Regions from separate parts of the Homo sapiens genome. Here all the other regions are linked to region 2. The links are contacts of gene promoters, found by promoter capture Hi-C in blood cells and fetal thymus (Javierre and others, 2016). All regions are on one chromosome and are shown on one strand. The core of a region is centred on a gene start or on the middle of the fragment in contact, and the rest is flanking DNA. Distances in the headings are between cores, read along the strand shown. Region 1 overlaps UBA6 (ubiquitin like modifier activating enzyme 6). Region 2 holds the start of TMPRSS11D (transmembrane serine protease 11D). Region 3 has its middle 25 kb from the start of UBA6-DT.

Evidence for each region. Contacts are between HindIII fragments. The CHiCAGO score rates a contact against its expected background, and 5 or more counts as called.
Region 1: a fragment that was not itself captured here is called in contact with the fragment with the promoter of TMPRSS11D in region 2 in 1 of 17 cell types (monocytes); the score reaches 5.0 in monocytes.
Region 3: a contact is called between a fragment that was not itself captured here and the fragment with the promoter of TMPRSS11D in region 2, in 2 of 17 cell types (M0 macrophages and M2 macrophages). The highest score is 5.2, in M0 macrophages.

The regions. Positions count from the first base shown.
Region 1 is chr4:67,690,869-67,695,010 of GRCh38, reverse strand. All of the region lies in intron 2 of UBA6 (ubiquitin like modifier activating enzyme 6), which reads left to right. Among named protein-coding and RNA genes, the nearest start is that of UBA6, 8.2 kb to the left of the region's middle. The HindIII fragment of the contact is 2,554 bases long and covers 1,570-4,123 here.
Region 2 is chr4:67,881,390-67,885,884 of GRCh38, reverse strand. It overlaps TMPRSS11D (transmembrane serine protease 11D), which reads left to right and starts at 1,883. Exons shown (of 10, transcript NM_004262.3): 1 at 1,883-1,959. The coding sequence starts at 1,952. The HindIII fragment of the contact is 7,558 bases long and covers 1-2,034 here.
Region 3 is chr4:67,723,870-67,728,369 of GRCh38, reverse strand. It overlaps the pseudogene LOC100419046. Among named protein-coding and RNA genes, the nearest start is that of UBA6-DT, 25 kb to the right of the region's middle. The HindIII fragment of the contact is 2,182 bases long and covers 1,242-3,423 here.

The DNA of each region.
Region 1 (4,142 bases), core at 1,597-4,096, 190 kb after region 2:
AGGCTGCAGTTTGCTTTACTGAGAGTTATAGAATATAGCAGTTTAGCTGTTATTATTAGAGGTAAGCCATTTTCTTTTGTTTGACGGAGAGTATCTTTTGGTGTAGCTGTTAGCACTTGGTATGCGTGTCTTATTGCAAACATCTAGTTGTTTACCAATGTGCATATTTGAGTTTTAATATCTTCCTTAAGAATTTGTCATAGTGAGGGCAGGAAGCCAGAAATTTATGTGGGTACTAAAAGAGTGAATTATTAGGGAATACTAAAAGAGTTACTGACTACATATAGGTTTTCTTAGTAGAAATACAAAGATGTGGCCAGGCACAGTGGCTCATGCCTGTAATCCCAGCACTTTGGGAGGCCGAGGCGGGTGGATCACGAGGTCAGGAGATCGAGACCATCCTGGCTAACACAGTGAAACCCCGTCTCTACTAAAAATACAAAAAATTAGCCGGGTGTGGTGGCGGTGGCGGGCGCCTGTAATCCCAGCTAGTCGGGAGGCTGAGGCAGGAGAATGGCATGAACCGGGGAGGCAGAGCTTGCAGTGAGCTGAGATGGCACCACTGTGTTCCAGCCTGGGCTACAGAGCAAAACTCCATGTCAAGAAAAAAAAAAAAAGAAATACAAAGACCAAAATGCCAAAATGTGAGATTTTCACACAATAACCAGCTCTTATTTTCTTAGATTTTAAAAATTAACTTAAATGTTTGAGGGTTTTTTTTTTTATAGTGACTGAATCTGAAGATTTGGTAGTTTTGTATTTTTTCTTTTTTTTTTTTTTTTTTTTTTTTTTTTTGAGATGGAGTCTTGCTCTGTCATCCAGGCTGGAGTGCAGTGGCGCGATCTCGGCTCATGGCAACCTCCGCCTCTTGGGTTCAAGCAATTCTCCTGCCTCAGCCTCCTGAGTAGCTGGGACTACAGGCATGCACCACCACACCCAGCTAATTTTTGTATTTTTTTTAGTAGAGGCGGGGTTTCACCATGTTGGCCAGGATGATCTCAGTCTCTTGACCTCATGATCTGCCCACCTTGGCTTCCCAAAGTGCTGGGATTACAGGCGCGAGCCACCGTGCCCAGCTGTATTTTCTCTTTTTAAAAATCTGTATCTGTTGCTTATGGGGACTAGTATAAGACCTAGGACTTTGGACAATGATTTATTTTAGGGACAAGGCATGAAATGAGGATCCTTAGCCTCTTAATATCTCAGGGAGATAGATTTCATCAGTAAGCTTGATGAAGGTAGGGTAAGATAAAGATAAATTCCAGAAGTTCTCTTTTCTCTCCGTTCTCTTTCACACAGCCACAGTTCCGACCATTTTGTCTCATAGTACAAGTCCAAATACTATAGCTTACCGAGTTATTTTGAACATAACTCCAACTTACCTTCTAAAAAGTTATTATTGTAGTAAAAACACATAACATGAACTCTACCCTACTAACAAGTTTTTAAGTGTGTAGTATAGTATAGTTGACACTTGAACAATGAAGGAGTTAGGAGTGCCAACTCCCCTACCACCCTACCTCTTGTGCAGTCGAAAATCCACATATGACTTTTGACTCTCCCAAAGCTTAAATGCTAATAGCCTTACTATTGACTGGAAATTTTACTGATAATGTAAATAATCAATTAACACACATTTTTAATATTATATGTATTATATACTGTATATATATATATACACAGTATTCTTAGAATAAAGTAAGCTAGAGAAAATAAAATGTTAAGAAAATCATGTAAGAAAGAGAAAATATATTTATTGTTCATTAGATGGAACTGGATTATCATAAAGGTCTTCATCTTTGTTGTCTTCATGTTGAGTAGGCTGAGGAGGAGGAAGGGGAGGAGTTGGTTTTGTTGTCTTAGGGGTGGCAGAATCAAAAGAGGTGGAGGCAGAAGGGTAGGGAAAGAGAGGCAGGCACACACAGTGTAACTATGGAAATATGTAACTACTATGTGACTTTTTTTGCTTTCTCATTTCTGGAAAAATGTTTCTATACAATACTGATCCTCCTGTCATTTTCTTTAGTTTCTTTTTGGTGCCCCTGTTGTAGAAGGGTCCATGTCATTAAAGAAATCAATGCAATCTTGAATCGTCGGAACCCTTCTGCCAGATTGTCTGATGTCAGTAACAACGATAGCATCTTCAATGGTATAATCTTCCAGACTTTAATGATGTTCTCTTTCTTGGGGTTCTCTTCCATAGCATTGACAATCCTTTCTATAGAGTACCTTGTGTAATGAGCCTTAAAGGTCCTTTATGATGCCCTGATCTAGAAGCTGAATTTGAGATGTTGTGTTTTGAAGCAAGTAAACCACTTCAGCACCTTCATTGTTGAACTTTGGGGTTCTGGGTGGCCAGGTGTATTGTCCAATAGCAAAAGAACTTTAAAAGTTCTTGCTGGCAAGGTACTTCCTGACCTCAGAATCAAAGCATCAATGGAACCAATCCAGAAAAAGGGTTCTTGTCCAGGCCTGCTTGTTATGTAGCCGGAGGACTGGCCGCTGGTGTTTATCTTTTCCCTCCAATGCTCAGGGGTTAGCAGCTTTATATGTAAGGGCAGTCCTGATCATAAACCTGAAAGCATTTGCAGAAAACAGTAGAGTTAACTATCCATTTCTGCCTTAAATCCTGGTGCTTGCTTCTCTTCCTTACTAATAAATGTCCTTTGTGGCAATTTTTTTCAAAATAGAGCACTTTCTTCTACATTAAAAACCTATTCAGGTAGATATCCTTTCTCTTCAGTGATTTTCCTTATGGCGTCTAGAAACTCATTGCTGCCTCTTGATCGGCAGAAGCTGCTTCTCATGTTGTGTCTGACTTTTTTTTAAGACAAACCTCTTTCTAAAGTTATCAAACTATCCTTTGCTGGCATTAAATTCTACAGCTTTACTGCTTGGGTGATGGGTGCACCAAAATCGCACAAATCACCACTAAAGAACTTAAGTAACCAAACACCACCTGTGTACCCCAGTAACCTATGGAAAAAAAAGAATTCTACAGCTTTATATCCTTTACCTTCTTTTTGCTTTAAGTGGTCTTATAATGACTTCGCTTTTTCTCAAATCATGTTAGAGTCTATGACTTTCTTTCAGCAATCCTGCACCCATATCAGTGCTGCATTTTCAATATAAGATAAAAAAATCTTTCACAAAAAGTGTAAGGTTTTCATACTTGCTGGTGTAGTTACAATGATGGCTTTTCTTTTTTTTTTTTACAATGGTCCTTCCACTGGATTCATTTTATCTTGAAATGTCAGGCAACCATAGCTGCAGACCTCAGTCTACAGTACATAATCAAGCAATTCAACTTTTTATTGTAATGTCATGACTTTTCTCAGCTTCTTGGGAGCACTTGCAACATTACTGGTGGCACTTTGTATGGGTCCCATGATGTCATTCAAGGTTTACAGTATTGCACATTAAACATGATGAAAAAATATGCAAGAATCTCAAGACATCACTTTTTCCTGCAATATTCAATTTACTGGAGAGAGGAACTGCTCAGGCAAAGATGAATAGAGTCACATGTGCTTTAACCAGATACATCACTTAAGCTCACCACAATAGCAACTGGAAGTAGCTACAAAATTATTACAGTAGTGCAGTATGTACTACAGTGACTTTTATGCACTTATGACTGAATACTGCATCTTTACATCTGTTTACATTCCTCTTAACTGCAAATGGCGACATCTATGGTCTGTAAGTGTACGCATAGTTTTGATAAATTTTAACTTTTTATAATTTGTGTATATTTTATGGTAGTAAATGATAAAATAGACTAATATGTACATAGATTTCATGCATTCATGACATTTTCTTAATTTTTGGGTATTTCTAGGCTACAAAGTTCATCCGTGAGTTTTTTTCAAGTTGTCACAAATGTCCAAAAAAATTTTCAGTATATTTATTGAAAAAAATCTGCATATAAATGGACCTGTGTGTTTGAAACCCATGTTGTTCACGGGACAACTATATTTTTAACTCTGTGTACATTGTCATATAGCAGATCTGTGTAGCAAATATTTCTTCAAGATCTTGTTTCTAATTCTTTTGGAGAAATAACCCAAAATGGAATTGCTGGATTATGTGGTAATTCTATTTTTTAATTTTTGAGGAAGCTTCATACTGTTTTCCATGGC
Region 2 (4,495 bases), core at 634-3,133:
TCTGCACTAATACGTTAATTATGAGACATCTAAACAACATATGATGAGTAAGTACCTACGTGGTAAAAAGGCCTTTGCTGCTGAGTATTCCAGGAAATAAAGACATACAAGAAAGAGCATGCATAATTAGAGAAAATTTCTGTAAGCAAAAAACAGAAAATAACACTTTAAATCCTAGTAAAAATTATTAAAACAAAAGTATAATTTTATAAGCCATTAAAATATTTAAATCACTTGGCTCAATAAGCCTCTTCAGTTTATTCTGAAGAAAAATTCAACTGTAGGATGACAAAGAAAAACTATGTTTGTGAAGGTGGTCATTCAAAGAATCATCTACAATAAAAAAATAGAAAATGTCTAAATACTTCACATTAGAAAATAACTTTGGTGCTTTATGATAAGTCCATTCAATGTAATGTGATTTACCTTTTAAAATGCAACCATTAAAACTGCTAATAATTAATGAATCTTGGTACCATATTTGTGTTTTAAATTATATAAAAATACAAAGTTATAAATATATAGCTACTAAAAATAAAAATTAGTAATAGCGATATATTTGTGAAATAATATTAAGTATAAAAAGCATAATACAAAATTATATACCATGATATAACTATATTTAAAGGTACTTGAAGTTAACATGTAAAATTTAAAAATGGTTTGTTTAGGTAACTTTATTTTTTAAACTTTTAAATCTTATTATAGTTATTTATTTATTGCTAAAAAATCAATGGCAGAATGTCAGGCATGAGATACTGTATGTAAAAAATATATTTCCCAAATATATTTGGGAAAAAACATATAAGTAACCACTTATTCCTGTCTCTGTTGTTTGATTTGCACATTATATAGAAAAAGTCAAGTAACTGAACACATCTGAAGTTGCAGTATTGGAGTAAATTTAACCATTAGTTGTCAGTGCTTTACAAGATGAAGTCATAGAATTTTATAATTGAGAGTCCTCTAAGACCTCCTGATTCAGCTTCCACTTTTCTTAGTAGATACATGTGACTTATGGAGAAATAAGTAAATTTTTTCCCTTAAGCTACACAATTAGTTGGTGAAAAAGCTAAGACTAGAATTCATATTGTACTACTAATAATATTGTAATAATTCTATTACAAGTTCCAATTCTTTAGCATTCATTAGTTCTCACAAAGTAACCCCAGTATAACCTTCCAAATTTATATCCTGCTTCTTTGCAATGTTAGACAGGAATGCCCTTTTTCCCCTCCCTGCTAGTCTTGCCTGTTTTCTTGAGCTCTCCATCCTTACCCTAACACCCTACACACTCATACTGTCTTCTTCTGTCTGCTCCTCTTCTAGTAGTAGTGTGTTAGAATAGCTTTTTCAAATGATCATATTTGGAAAAAAACAAAGTGGATTTTAGTTCCAACTATTCTGTTTGCTTGTCTTACTTTGTGCATCTACTCAATTATGCTCTGTTTCATATATTATGAGAAAAACTGCATTTAATCATACAGATGAGGGAATTCAGAGGTAGTGCCCATTAATGTACGGAAAGTATGTTCTGATGGATCTTGGCTGGCTGTGTTGAGGAATGAGGTGTATAACAATATGATAACATGAGCAAAATAAGTGTCAAATCCTCTTGAACTAAAAGTGACTCTACAGTTGTGAAGTAGTCACAGGCTTTCACAAAATACCTGTCAATTGTAATTGTGTTTAATCTCAATTTACCAGAATAAATAAATTTCTTACTAATTTGTGAAATTCCCTGTCTATTTCCAATTATCTTCCACAAGTCATACTATTGGTTTGTTGATTCCCTCAAACTTGTTTAACAAGTTAGATTTTAATTAACATGAGATTTCCTCCTTTGTCCTCAACTATAGATCACACGTAATACATGAGAGTCATTCATTTGAGTGGGAATCTCAAAGCAGTTGAGTAGGCAGAAAAAAGAACCTCTTCATTAAGGATTAAAATGTATAGGTAAGTCCTGTTTTTGTCTTTGTAGCTTTAAAAGTTTTACTATATCTTACAGTATGGGAAAAATATAAAGAAGCTTAGCAAATTTTGACTGTGTCTAGCAATCTTCTAGTTACTTCTCTGAAAACTTCATCGAAACTCTTAGATATTGTTTAGATAATATGCTTGATATTATTTTCATAAGGTACATAGTTGCTTAACTGAATTTTTTATAAAACAACCACAAAAATACTTAGCTTAGCGTTATGACAACATATCTTTAAATAAGGAAGTGGTTTTGTTTCTCATGTGCAACATTTCGAAAAGTGGTGTGTGGATTTTAAAATTGCAATCAGTAAACAATTCTTGTGTTGTTTGGAACTTTTCGAGGATTCTGTGTTTTGACTTCCATTACAGTTTTATTGCTAGCTATTAAATAAATATGCCATAAATCCTAAAGTACACTTTTAGAAAGTAAAGACGGTATTTTTCTACTTTTTATATAGTTGTAGAATTATTTTCAAGAAAGTTCTTGCTAACATTTAAGAGAAAATAATCTCTCTCTGGTTTTCTTTTTAGTTAATGAATAAGTATTTTCCTATACTTTCACATAAAGAAAGAAAAAAGTTGTGAGATAATCAAGTCACACGTTAACATCTCAAAACAATGAAATAATTATGTAACTTGGTATGTTTATGTGTGCACTTAAGTGTATATATTATGCATATTATTTTTCTATGACTACAGGAAAACATGATACTGATAAGTCATGCTGAAAGGATCAACAAAAGCATGAACAATGTGTTAGCTATAATAAGTGCAGCTGAATTTATTTTAAATCTCCTGAACATTGGAAAATTCAATCAAAAGTCAAACCATTTTAAGTAATAAAAATATATATACAGTTATATGCACTTGAATATATATATATGAGTGAAAAGTGGATAGCTGTCTAAGCTTCCAATGATAGAAGAAATAAAATCATTTCATATTCATGTAATAGATACAAGAAATGTATTAAAGTAGCTTAAAAACCTATGAAGTAATTTACATACTGAGTTTGTTCTTATTTTATGTGAAAAAAACAAATCACAAAATTGTATTTACTCATCAACTACTACTTTGTAAAGCTATACATGGGAGAAAGTCTAATAAAGAACATAGAACATTAATCAGGTTTGTTATACTAAAGCAGTGAGTTTATGAATTATATTTTTTATTGTTCTTAAACCATCTATAAGTGTAATATTATTTGGGTAATATAGTGCATTTTAAAATGTATTTTGCTGAAATATTTTAATTTTAAAGAAATTACTCTGATTTTAAAATATTGCCCTTATAAGCAGTCAAGTGTATATCAAAACATCATTCAATGGAAAATAATAAAAGAAGACATGTAAATGATACAAATCCTGAAAGAGTTGTACAATTTCAGAAGGCTTTGAATCAATCAAATTTCTAAGTTGATCCATCATTGTACAGGAAATTTGACACTCAATCAGAGCCAACCTTGCCAATTACAAATAACTCTTCTGTGGAATTTTGGTTTCTAAGGATCACACTTTTTGGAATATTTTATCTCTTTAATAGCCTGTATCTACTACTAATAAATAGCAGCTAGGTATTCATATCAAATAACAGAAGGAAAATTAAATTGTACAATATACTTTTTTTAGGTAATTGTAGGTAATTTTGGCATAATTTTAGATAAATCTTCAGGTAATTCTGAAATACTTTTGGTTGAAAATTGGCTGCCTTGGATGGTTTGATTGCTTTTTTTATAAAAAATTAAACTCCCAGCTCTCTTCCATGCTGCTGCAAGATGAAATGCTCCTTTCTTTATCTACCTTCTTCCCTTGTCTGAAGAAGGAAATCCTACCGTAGGGCCCAGGAACCTGAACAGCTGTGTTACTCATTTCAGATCCTTGGTCACTCTAGATTTTCTCAGGTTCACCAAGGGAATATCTGTGCCCACCAGATTACAGAAAACGTGTGAGATGAGGTTTGGGAAATAGGATAAAGATTTATAAACTGGAATTTGGAATGTAGTTTATGGAAAGATTTAAGGTAAATGAGCATATCTCAGCTCAGGGACAGACAAGTCTTAGCAGGACTCCTCCTACCAAACAAATCTTGTTTCCATTTTCTTCCCTTTTGTCTGTGCTCAAGACATGATTAACTGACTGCAGAGACATGCCAAAGACAATCAGATGCCCTGCCTCCCAACAGTCCAAAAGAACCTGAGACAAAAGTTGGCGGGGGGACGAGCCATCGCTGTCAAAAACGCATTCCAAATCCTGCCTGTTGTTTCAATCCTGGTTTTTGAACTGCTATAGGAACTCAGAAAAACATGCTTAAAATTGTAAATCATTAGGCAAAGAACATATTTCTTCATAGAAATTAGGCAGGTGGACACCAATTTGTATTTACAGTCATGAAGCCCAAAATAGTGCATTTCTAGTACAAGTTGTTGCCTATAAAATCTTGAGCCACATGCTAAAACAGCTGCTGCATTTGGCCCAAATGTTTTTCTAATGATGGTGTGGGACGGGCCTGCATA
Region 3 (4,500 bases), core at 1,083-3,582, 160 kb after region 2:
CACATGAATATATACATGTATAGACATATGTACACATATATACATGTGTAATACATACACAAAATATATAGTACATATACCTGTATAACATATAATTTATATGTAATATAATTATAAATATAATTTATATATCATTTATAATGCATATAGATTATACATATTTGTAATTTTGTAAATATATATACATACTAAGAGAAATAAAATATGCAAAGCCCTGCAAAATTCTTTGTGATATCTTTGTGTGGAAATGATACGTTTGCTATCTCAATGTTTTTATTAGATAATAGAGAAAAATACTACCTTTATCAGTTAGAATGCTTTAAGCTACAAGTAACTGAAAACACAACTAAAAATGACTTAAGCAAAATGACATTTACTATTTCACGTAACAGTCAATCCCAGGGTGAGTTGATTCAGAACTCCAGTGAATTTAGGACTTCAGCATATTCACTCTGTCAGCTTTTGATCTCAGGCTTCTCCATAATGTTCAGGAGAAACCTGTAACAGCTGCAAGTGTCACTCCCTCATAGAACAAGCCCAAAGACACAAAAAAGAATATTTCCTTAATGTGTCTGTTCTTATCAAAAGGAAGAATCTTCTTTAGTCACCCATCTGAAAGACTATCCCTCACTGAGTAATTCTATTACTCAGAATTGTCTCATATGTCAATGTCTAAGCCAATCCACTTTTGAGTGGATTGAGATTATGATTATTTTAGACCAATTGTTACAGGACCACCAGGTTCATATGCCTGCTATGCAATAACAGACCAATACACTGAGACAGCAGAGTTAGCAGCAGAGAGTTTAATGATTACAGGGCAGCTGAGCAAGGACATGGGAAAAACCCTCAAATCCATCTCCATGAGAGTTCTGGGCTGACGTTTTTAAGGGGTTGTGGACAGCCAGGGGCTGGAAAATTGAGGTTGCTGATGGGTCAGGAGAAGAGAGATGAAATCATCAGGATGTGGAAACTGCATTCTTTGCTGAGTCAGCACCTCATGGGGTCCTTCAGACCTGCTGGCATCAGTAGTTTCACATCAGTAGTTTCACCGGTATGCGGGACTTGAAAGAATATCTCAAATGGATAAAAGCTTCACAATGCTTAAGATGTTATCTAGGGGAACTATAATCTTGTGACAGGGTCTACGTGATTCTGGGGCAATAGGCAGGAAACAACCATGAGGAAGCAGGTCAGACAGCAAGCTGACCTAATGATTAATGCTGAATGTGCTACAAGCTTGGTTCGTTTTTGTTTCTCTCCTTCCCTTCTTCCCTGGCTAATTTTATGCAGTTGATAGGGACAGTTTCACAGTCATAACTCAGTGTGCAGAGCTAGGGAAAAACAGCCTGCCATGAAGCTCATGGCAGCACTATATCTGAACAAAAGTGGGGTCCCGTTAGCAAGAAGAAAGGAGATCTATTAAGAAACAAGGTGTATGGTGTCTGTCACACTTTCAGCAACTAAATAGAGTTTGCAATTAGGTGTCATCAATGTCCATCATTTCTGTCCAGTGGAAGTAATAAAAGTAATGGGACCATCTGGCATTTAAAGCATTCATCAGATCTATCCACAAAACTTTATGGTGTAAAATCTATTTATTACCTATTTCCTTCATCTTCAATTTCCCAAGACATAGAAATAACGACAGAATCTCACCAGCAGAGGGCTAAGAATTCATGCAGGTAATTTTTAAATTATTATTATTATTATTATTATTATTATCTTTATTTGATAATAAAGAACATGTAGGAAAACTTTTCTGAGTAGTGTTTACCTCTTGGCATACTAAAACTGTCATTTCACTGCTTCATAAAAATAGATACTTTGATTCTCAGTTAGTCGGAGATGATAACCTGGACTTAATATTTGCTCTCACATCTTTACTTCCTATCCCTGCCACTATGCATTAAAGCATCCCTAATTACATCAGTGAGGGTATTATCCAGATTGTAAATAATGTAAATAACTGGTAGGAGCTCTAATGCCTGGAATACAAAATTTAGCCCAAATCCAATGCCAAACAATAAGAGCATTCTGAGAGAAGATGACTCCTTTAATACCTTCTTCAACGGGACTATTGTGGTCAAGCATGGCTCCACAAAATTGTTTGTGGACCTAGAGCCAATACGTGGTGATGAAGTTTGCCTTAGGAAGCGATCACTAGCAAAGAAGATGCATCAAATAGCTTTGCCTCTAGTCACTACACCGTTGAAAAGGAAAGCATTGACTAAGTGTTGGATTGGATTCAGAAGCTAGCTGACTTAAGTACAGGTCTTCAGGCTTTCTTGAATTTTTGCTGGTTGGTGGTAACTACAGTTTTTATTTGCCTTTCTGTTGATAGAATCTCTATCAGTTGATTATAGGAGCAAAATTCTCCATTTACCCAGCTCCTTAGCTTTCCTTAGCTGAAGCTGAGGTCTTCAATTCCATCAACTCTTTAGCACTTTGATTGTGTCTTCATATTAGATAATGAGGCCATCTATAATATTTATGTAGAAACCTTAATATTGAGCACCCAATACACAATAACCTTAAGCACATTTTCAACCAGTGTGTATTCTCCATCATTGTTTCTCTCAGATTTCATGGTGCCTTGAATGTCAATATATCAAAATTTTATACTTATTCTCTATCTTTATGTCTACTTCCCTCCGTGTATATATCCAGCTATCTCTGCTGGGAAAACCTACCACAAACATTTTCTGTAGCAGAGATAACTAATGCTTGCTCTGAGCTAGCCAACCAGATGATATGTGACACTTGAAATGATAAATGTATGGCTCACTACCTATTGTATAGTATTATGGTAATAATACATTATTACTATATCAGTGTAATATGGTTTCCACAAATATGAAGGCTGCATTGCCACCATCAAGACAAATTTGCAGATCTGTGCCTCTCTGGCTTCAAGGTTGGAATCAATTATCAGTGTCCCACTGCAGTTCTAGTAGAGACTGCCAAAGTAAATGCAGTTGTGTGCTCATGGAGCAATACTGCAGTCATAGCTGAAGCCTGGACTTGCCTAGACCGCAAGTTGGTCATGCCAAGAGTGCCTTTGTTCACTGTGTATAAGGGTGAAGAGATGAAAGAAGGGGAGTATTCAGAAGCATGGATGGCCTAGGGAAAGATTATAAGGCAATGTGGATTTCAGAGGATCAGGGAAAGAAGGAGAGAAATATAAGTTGTCTATTCCCTTTAACTTGCCACATCTTAGCACAGTTTATCTTTAACTTAAGTCATCAGTGTCTGATTAGATTGTCTTTACTTTCAAATGTGATTGCTCCTGCATAACTCTTGTGTACCTACAAATTTTTTTCTATTTTCATCCATGAAAGTAAAGGCTTTAACAAACAGAATGACATATAGATGTGTGTATGCATGAGTGTGTATGGAGAGAGATGACAGAAAGAATAAGCTTAAGGCTCAGTGTGGTGGCTCACACCTGTAATCCCAGCACTTGGGGAGGCCCAGACAGGTGGATCACTTGATCAGGAGTTCAAGCCAGCCTAGCGAACATGGTGAAACCCCCCTATACTAAAAGTACAAAAATTATCTGAGATCCATGGAGGGCACCTGTAATCCCAGCTACTCAGGAAGCTGAGGCAGGAGAATCAATTGAATCTTGGAGGCAGAGGTTGCAGCGAGCCAAGATCTCACCACTGCACTCCAGCCTGGGCAACAGAGTGAGATTCCGTCTAAAAAAAAAAAAAAAAAAAAAAGAATAGGCTTAAGAAGGAAAGGCTATCATCCCTGAACTTGAACCTGAAATACCTGTTGTATTTACAAATTCCCAAGTAACTCGGCTCCTCTCTAGTTTTATTTTGAACACTCTTTTTATTTTGGCTCCTCTCTAGTTTTATTTTGAACTCTCTAGTTTTATTTAGGCTCCTCTCTAGTTTTATTTTGAACACTCTTCCTCTTACATACTACAGTCTAGCTGCATTAGCAGGCAGATCCTGATGCATTTATACCATAAAGCCTAGAAAGTCATTTTATTTTATACACATTTATTATTATATTTTGAAGTTATTATATTTTGTCTCCAGTCACTGTTGCTTAAGTAGTTAAGTCAAACAATAAAGTAGGAAGATAGTGGTGTCGGCCGCAGGCTGGTCCCAAGCAGCGGAGGCCGCAGAGCTGAGTGACGCCCCAAGTGCTGGATGCCTCAGCTGGAGGCCATCTGCAAGCTGGGCTGCTATCACTCGCTGGGAGAGGCAGTGAGGCCAGAGCGCCACCCAGTGCCCCTGGGCACGCCTGCAGCTGCCCTGCCTGCTGCTCTGCCTGGCTGACCCAGTAAAGCAGCTACATTGTCTGGGATATATATCCTGGAGCTCGTCATTGCATGCCAGGAAAATTTAGAACACGGACACACACCAGGAAGTTTGGAGAGGAGGTTTAATAGGCAGAAGAGAAAAGAAAGAGAAACAGCTCTCTTTATAGAGAGAGGGGTCTCTGAGCTGAAAGGGCTGGCTGGTTGGCCAACGCACCTGATTT